2 separate regions of the Homo sapiens genome follow, and region 2 is linked to region 1. The links are contacts of gene promoters, found by promoter capture Hi-C in blood cells and fetal thymus (Javierre and others, 2016). All regions are on one chromosome and are shown on one strand. Each heading gives the region's core, a stretch centred on a gene start or on the middle of the fragment in contact. The rest is flanking DNA. Distances are from core to core; before and after follow the strand shown. Region 1 holds the start of ZNF649 (zinc finger protein 649). Region 2 overlaps ZNF345 (zinc finger protein 345).

Region 1 (6,489 bases), core at 401-2,900:
TGCAGTGAAGGGGTGGCCTGCCTCTCCACATCTGTGGGTGTTTCTCGTCAGGTGGGACGAGAGACTGAGAAAAGAAGAGATACAGAGACAAAGTATAGAGAAAGAAAAGTGGGTCCAGGGGACCGGTGCTCAGCATACAGAGGACCCGCGCCGGCACCGGTCTCTGAGTCCCTCAGTATTTATTGATCATTATCTCTACCATCTCGGAGAGGGGGATGTGGCAGGACAATAGGATAATAGTGGGGAGAGTGTCAGCAGGAAAACATGTGAACAAATGTCTCTGTGTCATAAACAAGCTTAAGAAGAAGGTGCTGTGCTTTGATATGCACATACATAAACGTCTCGGTGCATTAAAGAGCAGTATTGCCGCCAGCTTGTCTCACCTCCAGCCCTAAGGCGATTTTCTCCTATCTCAGTAGATGGAACATACAATCGGGTTTTATACCGAGACATTCCATTGCCCAGGGACGAGCAGGAGACAGATGCCTTCCTCTTGTCTCAACTGCAAGAGGCCTTCCTTCCTCTTATACTAATCCTCCTCAGCACAGACCCTTTACGGGTGTCGGGCTGAGGGATGGTCAGGTCTTTCCCTTCCCACGAGGCCATATTTCAGACTATCACATGGGGAGAAACCTTGGATAATACCTGGCTTTCTGGGGCAGAGGTCCCTGTGGCCTTCCGCAGTGTATTGTGTCCCTGGGTACTTGAGATTAGAGAGTGGTGATGACTTTTAACAAGCATACTGCCTTCAAGCATTTGTTTAACAAAGCACATCCTGCATAGCCCTAAATCCATTAAACCTTGAGTCAACACAGCACACGTCTCTGTGAGAACAGGGTTGGGGGTAGGGTTACAGATTAACAGCATCTCAAGGCAGAAGAATTTTTCTTAGTACGGAACAAAATGGAGTCTCTTATGTCTACTTCTTTCTACATAGACACAGTAACAGTCTGATCTCTCTTTCTTTTCCCCACAGTGCACTGTTGTTAGTGCTCCAACCTCACAGTGCAGGGGTTGAGGTGTCAGGAGAGGGAACACATCAGTGCCATTTCACTGTCTCCTGTGTCAAAGCAAAATTAAAATGCAGACCAGAATTCAAAAACTCCTGAGCAAACAAAACCCAGTAGGCCTTAAAAACAGCCTTAACCTTGCTTAACCTGCAAACATAAGCAACAATTCACTTGAGTCATTTCTGGTAAATGCTTGTGTTAGGGAAGGACAAAACTCAATCTCAACCGATCAAAAGTAGGCAACTCACATGCTATTATGTCATTAGGGACTTTCCAAGGCAAATTTAAAAAAATGCATTTTTATAATTGTAACTAATCAAATAATTTCTTTGTTTTACTCCTTCACTCACCCTGTGAATACTTGTGTCTAATGCTTTAAGCATAGAAGCGCGAGACTTCTTTTGGTTTGATGCTTCCTAATTCATGAATTGCTGTTTGTTCAGATAAACTCTAGAAAATGCTCCTGCGCCTCAAATTTTTGCTTTCAGGAGAGTCATCCCGGTTTAATGACACAAGAACAACTGTTTCCCTTCTGTACGGCAGATCTACCAAGATGGCCGCGCCCAGAGAGCCGTGGCTCAGGGCGCGGACATGTTACCTCCTCGAAGAGAAGCCCATGTCCCATCGTCCTAGCGCGGCAGAATTGACTCGCGCCCTCGTCCGCCGCCATAGGCCAGTGCCGGGGTTTAAGGGCCAGGAAAGGAAGCATTCAGGGAATTTAGGTGTAGCCAGAAGAAAATCAGGTGAGTGTTTGGGTCTCTCCGTGGAGTAGGTTAAAGGGGTAGGGAGCTTCTGAGGAGCCTGTGGGGAGAGCTGGCGGCCTGGGCGGTGGAGCCTTTGGGTTGGGGTGCCTTTGCGGTCCGGCGTGGGAGAGTTCTTGTGGTCGGGCGTTAAAGGTCTGTCGAGTTCAGCGACTGAGACTCGGCGTCAGAGTTTGGGGTCTCTGAGGGTCACTCTGTTAGTAGGCCTCTGGATCACTGGATGGAGAACTCTAGGGGGACGCTGCCCAGCACGCCGGCTTTATCACCGACGCCATTATTATCACTCCAAATGCTGCAGTTTAAAGTCGGTGATGAAGCCGGGGTGCTGGGCAGCGTACGAGGGTGTGTGGTGTAGGTTTTGGGGTGAATCGGGGATGTGTGTTAAGTGTTTCGGGGAGGCCCAGGCATGTGGGGCTCAGAGGCTTGTAAAATCTGGTATTTTACAAGCCCAGGCCCCTGGCTGGGGTTGAGTTGTGAAACTATAACCGCCCACCCTTGCCGGCTGCCTAGACAGAGCCGACTTGTTAAGACAGGGAAATTGCAATGGAGAAAGAGCAATTCATGCAGAGCCGGCTGTGCGGGGAGACCGGAGTTTTATTATTACTCAAATCAGTGATAAAAGAAAAATTGAAGCCGAATTAAATTTACAGGAGTTTCCTTGAGCAATGAACGATTCGCGAATTGGGCAGCCCCCAGAATCACAGCAGATTAACAGAGACTCCAGGGGTGCCTCGTGGTCAGAACAAATTTATAGACAAAAAAGGTAAAGTGACATACAGGAATCGGAAGCGAGGTCCAGAAACAGTGAGATTGGTTACCATTCGGCGTTTGCCTTATTTGAACGCAGTTGGAACATTCAGCAGTCTATGAGTATGGCCGCTGGGACTGGCCACCACTCAGCTATTGTTACAGGTGCATACGATTAAGTTCGGTTTTCAATTTTGTCTGTTAAGCTAGGTTGCAGTTTATCCACAAGGACTCAAATATAGAAGTATGGAGTCGTTCTCAGGCAATATTTAGTTTGCTTAAGCATCAGTCTCCTTGAGCATTTGGGGATCAAAGTTTCCTCCTATCCCCCAGACGGAATCTAGCTCTGTTGTCCAGTCTGGAGTGCAGTGGTGCGATCTCAGCTCACTGCAACCTCCGCCTCCTGGGTTCTAGCGACTGTCCTGCCTCAGCCTCCCGAGTGGCTGGGATTACAGGCGCCCGCCACCACGCCCGGCTAATTTTTGTATTTTTAGTAGAGACAGGCTTTCACCACGTTGGCCAGGCTGGTCTTGAACTCCTGACCTCAGGTGATCTGCCCGCCTCGGCCTTCCAAAGTGCTGGGATTATAGGCATGAGCCATCGCGCCTAGCTATGATTGTTACGATTTATAAGAAATGTATAATCGATCTTTGTCCTGTTTCCTGGCACATGTCTCCCAAAAGCCTTGGAACCTCTTCAGTAAACAGTGCCTTTTTGTGTGGCATTGAGATGGCTGGTGACTGGGGGCTTCTGGCTGGCCTTAGGACGGGGGAGGCTGGTTGCCAGGGCAACTAACCATGTCATTTGAGGGTTGGAAATTTTAGCTCTGCCTGGCAACAGGGAAGTTGAAGGTTGAGTTGATCACCAGTGGTTAGTGTTTTAATCAAGTATGCCCACATAATGAAACCAGCGTAAAAACTCAAAAGGACTGGTGAACTTCTGGGGAACTTACAGATTCTTGAGCATGTGGAGGTGCCTGAGGGTGGTGAACTGAGTCTCTAATAAGCTTCCGTGGAGGGCATGGAAGTCCCACGCCCCTTGCTACAAACCTTGCTCTGTGCTATCCCTTCCATCTGCCTCTTCATCTGTATCCTTCGTAATATCCTTTATTCCTTTTCCCATTTGCCCTGAGAATACTCACCTTTGGTGCTTGCAGCTGGAGCATTTACCCCGAGATAACTTTGCCATGAACGATCTCACTTTTATTATTTTCACATCGCTCTAGTAGGTCGCCTTGGGAAACAAAAGACATCATTCTACTTATAGCATTCTGTTTTTAGTAGTGGTATTTCCATTTACAAAATGTAGTAGTTCTCGATCACTGAAAATGTCAAATCCTAGAAAACGTAGCATTCCTACATGTGATGTTAACATCATTCTCAAACAGTTCTTGGCTGAAGACTCACTGGATGGATCCGATTTTTACCAAATCGAGAATTCTGATGATTCCAAATCGAGAATTCTGATGATTCAGATGATTCTGATGTTAGTTCTGTTTAGAAATAACTCCTAGAACAGCTTTTATATTTTATTTTCACATTGAAAATCAGATTTACTGCAGCCTCAAAGAGCATGTTTATGTAAAATGAAATAAGCGCTGGCAGTGAGCTGCACTTCGTTTTTCTAGACAGGAAAAGAGTTGAAATAAACCAGTAAATGTTAAGTGCTTTCCTGAGTTCTGTGAGCCATCCAGCAAATTAATCGAACCTGAGGAGGAGGCCGTGTGAATCCTGATTTATAGCTGGTCCATCAGAGGTACAGGTGACAACCTGCTGCTTGCAACTTGCGTCTGAAGTTGGGGGCAGGCTTGAACTGAGCCCTTAATCTGTGGTGTCTGACACTATATCTAGATACACAGTCTCAGACTGAATTAAATTATAGGATGCTGTCTTAGCCTTGTTGGTGCTGCTATAACAAGATAGCTGAGACTGGATAATTTATAAACAACAGAAATTTATTTGTTATAGTTCTGGAGACTGAGAAGTCTAAGATCGAAGCACCAGCAGGTTTGGTGTCTGGTGAGGGCCTGATTTCTGCTTTCAATATGGTGTTTTGTCGCTATTTCTTTGGAGGTGAAGAATGCGGTGCCCTCACATGGCAGAAGGCAGAAGAGCAGAAAGGGCCGATCTGTGTGTGAAGCCTCTTTTATTTTTATTATTATTTCTTCTTTCTTTAGGTTTTTTTTTTTTTTTTTTTTTGATACAGAGTCTCACTTTGTCACCCAGCCTGCAGTGCAGTGGCACCATCCTAACTCACTGCAGTCTCAACCTCTCAACCTCCCAGGCTCAAGCAGTCCTCCTGCCGCAGCCATCTGAGTAGCTGGGAATACAGGCATGTGCCACCATGCTTGAATAATTTTTGTATGTTTTATAGAGATGGGGTTTCACCATGTTGCCAAGTCCTGAGCTCAAGTGATCTGCCCACCTTGGCCTCCCAAAGTACTGGGATTACAGGTGTGAGCCAACACGCTCGGCCTTTATTTTTTTTTATTTTTTTATTTTTAAGAGACAGGGTCTTGCTCTGTTGCCCAGGCTAGAGTGCAGTGGTGCAATCACAACTCACTGCAGCCTCAAACTCCTGGCCTCAAGCGATCCTCCCACCTCAGCCTCCCAAAGTGCTGGGATTACATGCATGAGCCACTGTGCCTGGCCAAAGCCTCTTTTATAAGGGCCTTAATGCCACTCACAAGGGAGGAGCCCTCATGACCTAATCACTTACTAAAAGCCCACCTCTTGATACCATTGCATTGGAGATTAAGTTTCAACATGAATTTTGGAGGACACAAACATTCAAACCATAGCAGCTGGCATTTGGGAGCTTAGATTTTTGGAGGCAGTCCCACTATTTCCTAATAAGAGTGGCTCACTGTGCCTAAGCTGTTTTTTTCAAACAATGTGATTTATCCTGAACACATGCTTTCCTCTAGGATTCTGGAGTTTTGGTGAATGTTAGGCAGTGAGCACCTTCACGATCAGCCCCCAATAAAAACCATGGCACACAATCTCTCTCTAATAAACTTCCTTGGTCTATAGCATTTCACGTGTGTTGTCATGACTTGTGGCTCGGGGAATTAAGTGTATCCTGTGTGACTCCAAAGAGACTGAACTTGAAACTTATGTCTGGTTTCCTCCAGACTTTGCCACATGTACCTTTTACCTTTGCTGGTTTTGCTGTGTATGTTTTCACAGTAATAAGTGGTTGCCATGAATATAATTATAGACTGAGTGTTGTGAGTTCACCTAGTGAATCACTGCATCTGGGAGTGGTCTTGAGGGGCTCCGGCACAGCTGCCCACATTCATTCACCTGTCTCCCCTTTTCTAACAGACTCTCAGGTGTCCTTGGCTTGTGGCAGCATCACTCCAGTCTCTGCCTCCATCTTCACATGGCCTTCTCTTTTACCTGTGTGTTTCTTCTCTGTGTGTCTCACGATTGTTGGGAAAAAGGCTTATGGGGTGCTGGCATAAACTGGCCATAAAAATATGGGACAATAAGTTTTGGAAAATCACAGGAGGCCTCTGAGGAGGAAAGCCTCCTTATTACCATCACGTTCTCATGACCAGAGCGTGACCTGCTCTCTTATTTATAAACACTGTGCTTAAGGAGAAAGACACTCCTTTGAAGCATTGGAAAGTGGCCAGATATGCCGGCTCCTGGTTAAGCCCACTGCCATATGACTCCCCACATTCAGAGTGTTGTTTTATTGCCCTGGGATGTAAAGACTTGGGGACACCTGACAAAGGGATGCTTAGATATATTGCTTGGCCTTGACTGCAGGAGAGTTTACAGCAGCAGAGACAGCATCTGGGCCCGGAGGGAATGTGTCACCAAATGAACTTGATTTTTACTCCATAGGTCCTGGCTCCCCAGAAGCAAGAGAGTTCAAATGAAGGAAGGAGGAGGTTCCTGGATGTGGATGTCATCATTTCTGGGAACACTCTTAAATGGAGACTCAGATTTCTTAGCCAAAAT
Region 2 (6,519 bases), core at 1-2,500, about 15 Mb after region 1:
AAAATCCTTCCCACATTCCTTACATTCAAGGAGTTTCTCATCAGTATGAATTCTCTGATGCTGGATACTGAAAGTGGGCATGTCTTCAGGAGTAAATATCATTTCACTGAAATGTCCTTCCTGAGATCCCTGTTTTCTCTCAAACTGGTTTTTACATTCCCAATCACCTCTGAAACTTGAACACTCAATGCTGTGTTTTGTAAGGTTTTCCATATCCTTTTTCAGAAATAATTTCTTGGTCTCAACTTTGATTCATAGTCTGAAAGAAAATATAAAAGCAAACATTCACTTTTTTGTGTTCTGGGAGAGATTAAACGTTTATAATAGATACGAAAGACTTAACTACAATTTAATTTTCATAAAAATTGAGTGGTTTATACAGTTCTCACATATGACTGGGCAATTTGAAAAACAGATTAGGGAAGCAGAGAAAATGAGTAAAAGTCAGACTAGAAAGTGGAGGAGGTTTTCAGGAAACAGATTATTTTTAAATAGTAGTTTAGATATTTATTTAAAATAGTAGTTTTAAATAGTAGTTTAGTTTAGTTTAAAAGTCCTGCAGACTTTGAAAGCTTGGTAATTATACAGATGTCCTGGCCCTGTCTTAATTTTTTAAGAGATGAATCTAGTGCTATAAACATTTATAAATGAGAGTAATTCTCATATTCATTTATCAGGGTTGTTGGGAGTACTACATTTTTCCTGGGGTGGGAAATCTGGGATGTTTCAGTAATAAACATAATTTGCATATAAACTGATGGAGACAGAAAAGAAAGATAATCCACAAAGAGCAGTTTCCCAATGAAAGACTAATGTGCTAAATGAGTATGGAATGAGCTATGGAGAGGGAAGATTCATCTGTGGTTAGAATGTGGTTTGTTTATGCCATTTAAGAAATAAGTTTGCCTCCAAATTCTATGATGATAACATTGAGAGAAGATGGAGCTCAGTAAGGGCTACAGCAGAGGAACAGAATCTGGTTTTAACATAAGAGGAAAGGGAAGACAAGACAGGAGGCAATGTGATACTACTAGAAGACTGCAAGAAAGATGAAGATATATAAATATCCTGAACCTCATCTTTGATGATTATGGAATGATTCTGATCACACCAAATCTACTTACATACTTGCATAAAGTAACTATGCAGTGCTTATTATTTTGGGAGACTTATTTGCCTCAAAAGTAGAGGCTAGGAAAGGGAATGGATTTAAAGATACTATCTAAGGCCCTGAGTGAATACCTCAAATCCCAAAAAGTGAAAACATTCGGCACCAATCTCTTTCTACAACTTACATAACAATCCTGTTTAGAGCAGGTCTAAATATGTCTTGAAATTGTTCTTTCAGTCTCCAACTGGCTAATCCAAATCAAAATTATCTTTTGCTTGGACACTAAACCAGCATTTCTTCTACCTGCCTGCATTTCCAGTTTTGCACCCTTAGCACCCAGAGTGATATTTAGCCTGGAACTGTTCTGCTCAAAATGAACTCGCTCTTAAAAGTTCCTCAGTGATCTGCCTGTCTCTTCAACCTAATATCCCTCCCTGCACCCCCCACCCAACAATAAGCTGTAGCTACTATGTAGTCTTCATAGTTCTTCAAATGCACAAAACTGTACCGACCCATCCCCATCATGGTTTCATCTGCCTGAAATGTCCCCCTATATCCACTGCCCCTACTCTTGGCCTTGCAAGTTTCTGGCAGTGGTTTAGGTCTCTGCTAAATGATGTATCTTTAAAATATTTCCTACATGTTCAGTCTGAATTATGCACACTCTACTATCATTTCTCAGAGCTCTTTTTTCCTCTTTTCTTTGTGTTTTGTTTTGATAATAGGTAATTTACGTATCCATTCCCTACAGTTAAATTTTTCATATTTGTTTGAATGCTTGTTTAACCTCTGTCTGCTACAATAGAGCCAAGCTTCATGAAGACAAAGATAATATCTATTAATTTAATCAACTTGAACTCTGGTACATGCAAAAAAAACCTAAATGCATTTATTGAATAATATAATAAATTATTTGCAAAATGTATTATCCTTACAAATAAACATCTAAAAACTAGATTTCTCTAGCCATACAACATAATTTCTCTGAAAAAGCTCAAGTGGATCACGTGCATTTATCCCCGTACGCTTTCCAAAACCTCACTAAAAGGAATGAAAAGGAATTTGTAAAACAGAACAAAACCACCACATAAAAGGAAATTAAAGAGGAAGCTGCAGCAACAAAACATTTTCAGCTTATTTATTTATTTATTTTGAGATGGAGTTTCGCTCTTGTTGCCTAAGCTGGAGTGCAATGGCATGATCTCAGATCGCTGCAACCTCCGCCTCCCGGGTTCAAGTGATTCTCCTGCCTCAGCCTCCTCAGTACCTGGGATTACAGGCATGTGCCACCACGCCTGGCTAATTTTGTATTTTTAGTAATACAGGGTTTCTCTATGTTGGTCAGGCTGGTCTTGAACTCCCGACCTCAGCCTCCCAAAGTGCTAGGATTACAGGCATGAGTCACCAGGCCTGGCACCCCACCCCCCTTTTTTTTTTTTTAGTGGAGTTTCACTCGTGTCACCCAGACTGGAGTGCAATGGCACAATCTCAGCTCACTGCAACCTCTGCCTCCCAGGTTCAAGTGGTCCTCCTGCCTCAGCCTCCCAAACAGCTGGGATTGCAGGTGCCCACCACCACACCTGGCTGATTTTTGTATTTTCAGTAGAGGTGGGGTTTCACCATATTGGCCAGGCTGGTCTCGAACTCTTGACCTCAAGTGATCCACCTGCCTTGGCCTCCCAAAGTGCTGGGATAACAGGCATGAGCCACCATGCCCAGCCAACATTTTAAGTTGAAAGTGTAAGATAAACAATGACCAATCAAAAAAGATATAATCTTAACTAAAAGTAAGGAAAGCCCACACATAGTTACACTTTTTGTGTATAAAAAAGTGTACGGTTTATGCTGCAGAACCCCAGAAAAACTTAAGAAGTGGAGGGAACTAAGTACCCATAAAAGTCTAACAATCAACATACAAAATATATAGCATACAGCTTCTTAGGGCCCACTCTAAATTACAAATAGATCACTACCTCATGAAGATATGTGCACTCACATGTTCAAAGCAGTATTATTCACAATAGCCAAGACATGAAAATAACCTATGTGCCCACTGATGGATGAACAGATGAAGAAATTGTGATATATATAAATGAATATTATTCACCATTGAAAAGAAAGAGATCCTGCCATTTGACAAAACAGACATGAAACTGGAGGACGTTATGCTACGTGAAATAAGGGAGACGAAGAGAAATACTGCATGATCTCACTTATATGTAGAATGTAAAAAAAAAAAAAAAGTACAGAAATAGCATACAGAATGGTAGTTACCAGGGACTGTCAGGGAGAAAATGGGGAGATGCAGGTCAAAGGATACAAAGTTTCAGACATGTAGAATGAATAAGTCTAGAGATCCAATGTACAACATGAGGACTATAGTTAATGACATTGTATTGTATTTGAGATTTTTGATGAGAGTAGATTTTTAGGTGCTCTTGCCACACACACACAAAAAGTGTAACTATGTGAGATGATGAACATGTTAATTTGCTTGACTACAGTCACCATTTCATAATATGTATCAAAACCTCATGTTGTATATCTTAAATATATACAAAAACAACAGAAACAAAAAATAGGCAAATATTAGATATTTGAGAAAAGCCTGTAAGATAAAAGACAGTAAACAAAGCAACCAAAGCAACTCAGAAGACAGACTATATAGGAGAACAAAGAAAACCTCAAAAGTCACAACGTATATTCTCATAAGGATATGAGAAGCTACTCCACATGATACAAGAATAGAATAATATGAAAGAAATATTAAGTGAAAAAAGTATTCATAGAAAATGAAAATATAAAGTTGGAATAAAAACAAATCATTCAAAAGTAAATAATAAAATATCTTTAAAACCCATACAAAAAAGATACAGAAATGGAAAATAGGAAAATATGGGAGATCAAGCAACAAAGTCCAACGTCTACTGAGAAGAAATCATTTTTAGAAGTTTGCTAAGAATCTACAAAGTGTGCTAGAAGAAACGGAGGAACCTGAAAATCACCATTTAAAAATCGTCAATAGGATAAAAGATTCAGGATCCTCAATGGATTCTAAAGCTGGATAATGAATTGTGCTGCGGAAAAGGATATTCACTTGATCTCACAGTATCACTCTACAGATTATTTATTAATTATAAAGGGAAAAATATATACCTGTTTAATAGAAAGATTTGGTACTCACCACCTTAATCTTAAGTGGTAAAACTTGATGCCTTAGTCTACTTGTGTTGCTATGAAGACATATCTAAGAGTGGGTAACTTATAAAGAAAAGAGGTTTATTTGGCTCACAGTTCTGCAGGCTGTACAAGATGCATGGCACCAACAGCTTCTTCTGATGAAGGTTTCAGGCTGCTTCCACTAGCAGAAGGTGAAGAGGAGCTGGGATGTGCAGAGATTATGTGGAGAGAGAGGAAGCAAAAGAGAGGGTCGAGAGAGGTGCTAGGTTCTTTTTAACAACCAGCTCTTTTGGGAAGTAATAAGAGCAAGAACTCACTCACCCACTGCCCCCCAGGGAGGGCATTAATCTGTTCATCAGGGATCCATCCCCATAACTGAAACACCTGCCATTAGGCCCCACCTCCAACAATGGGGGGAAAATTTCAACATAAGATTCGGAGGGGACAAACATCCATACAGCACTTGGCATCAACAGTAGTAGAGCAACCTGACAATATGTTCCTCCCAATGTAATACAATAAAAGATGTACCATCATACCACCTATGTGGTATGCTTGCCAAATATATTTAACCTGAATCTAAGCTTCCTATACATGAGAAAGCCATGAGACAAATAAAGGTTATGTGACATTCTATAAAATAATTGTCCTGGATTCTCAAAAAAATTCAATGTCATATAAAACAGGGCCGGGCATGGTGACTCATGCCTGTAATCCCAGCACTTTGGGAGGCCAAGTTGGGCAGATCACCTGAGGTCGGGAATTTGAGACCAGCCTGACCAACATGGAGAAACCCCGTCTCTACTAAAAATACAAAATTAGCCGGGTGCAGTGGCACATGCCTGTAATCCCAGCTACTAGGGAGGCTGAGGCAGGAGAATCGCTTGTACCCAGGAGGCGGAGGTTGTGGTAAGACAAGATCGTACCATTGCACTCCAGCCTGGGCAACAAGAGTGAAACTCCATCTCAAAAAAACCAAAAAAATTCAAAGTCATATAAAACAAAAAATGAGAGACTGCTCCAGATTAAAAGAGACTAAAGAGATCCAATGACCAAATCAATATATAAATCTTGACTGGATCCTAGATCAGGCAAACACATACCCAAGTAAAACAAACAAACAAACACAATAGCAGCTAAATAAAGAGAGCTTGAAGACTACTGGAGCTGTCTAAATATAAAATGCTTAAGAATATTATTAAGTCTATTTTAATTTCCTTAGGTTGGAGATATATCATTAATACTAAGGAGATATATGTTAAAATTATTAATGGTAAAATGTGAAGATGTCCCCAACATATTTTCAAATGACTCACAAAAAAAAGTGTATGTGTGTGTATTAATAAAGATAAAGGAAATGTGGCAAAATGGCAACAACTGAAGAATTTGGGTGATGGATGATAGAGTCTGAATGTTTGTGTCCTCCCAACCCCCAAATGAAATGTTGAACTTTAGTTATCAATGTAATGGGGTAAGGAGGTGGGGCCTTTGGGAGGTGATTAGGTCATGAGGGCAGAGCCCTCATGAATGTAATTAATGTCCTTAAAAAAGAGTACCCAGAGGACTGCCTTTCCCTTTTTACTATGTGAGGACAAAGAGAGAAGGTGCCAACTATGAAGCAGAAAGCAGGTCCTTACCAGACACTGAATCTGCCAACATCTTGATCATGTACTTTCCAGCCTCCACAACTGTGAGAAATAAGTTTCTTTTGTTTATAAGATAACTAGTTTATGGTACTTTGTTACAGTGGCCCAAACAGAGGAAGAAAATGGGTATTCAGAATTCACTGGAATAATCTTTTTTTCTCTATGTTTGAAATTTTTCAAAGAAAACAGAAAATACAGATTGTTCTAAAAAGTAGCATTAAGGGCAACTTCCCAGACCTGAAAGAAATGAGTCTCCATATTTAATGGGTCCACTTGGTATGTAGTATAAAAAAAAGATGATTTACATTTACATATATTTTTATTAGGTTCTAGGACACTGGGAACAAAGAAAATACCCTAAAAGGCTCCAATATGCAAAGACAGGGTATAAACCAAAGACCAGGAATGAAAATGGCTTTGGAGTTCTAAACAATACTATAAGACAGAGATCATAATTTTAAAATTCTGAGGAAAAATATTTTTAATGTAGAATTCCATGCCCTGCCAAAGAATCAATATAGTGGTTGAAAAATATACCAGAACTCACAAAATTTAATTCTCATTCATCCTTTCTCACATGCC

Evidence for each region. Contacts are between HindIII fragments. The CHiCAGO score rates a contact against its expected background, and 5 or more counts as called.
Region 2: a contact is called between a fragment that was not itself captured here and the fragment with the promoter of ZNF649 in region 1, in 1 of 17 cell types (non-activated CD4 T cells). The highest score is 8.1, in non-activated CD4 T cells.

Annotation. Positions count from the first base shown.
Region 1 is chr19:51,900,178-51,906,666 of GRCh38, reverse strand. ZNF649 (zinc finger protein 649) reads left to right here and starts at 1,650. Exons shown (of 5, transcript NM_023074.4): 1 at 1,650-1,753; 2 at 6,373-6,489. It overlaps ZNF649-AS1 (ZNF649 antisense RNA 1), which reads right to left. Exons shown (of 3, transcript NR_110733.1): 3 at 6,203-6,489. RefSeq lists enhancers at 384-1,008, 1,499-1,618, 1,337-1,881, 2,972-3,517 and a silencer at 4,868-5,114. The HindIII fragment of the contact is 3,228 bases long and covers 299-3,526 here.
Region 2 is chr19:36,870,525-36,877,043 of GRCh38, reverse strand. It overlaps ZNF345 (zinc finger protein 345), which reads right to left. Exons shown (of 3, transcript NM_001242472.2): 3 at 1-259. The coding sequence starts at 213. Among named protein-coding and RNA genes, the nearest start is that of ZNF345, 23 kb to the right of the region's middle. The HindIII fragment of the contact is 1,351 bases long and covers 575-1,925 here.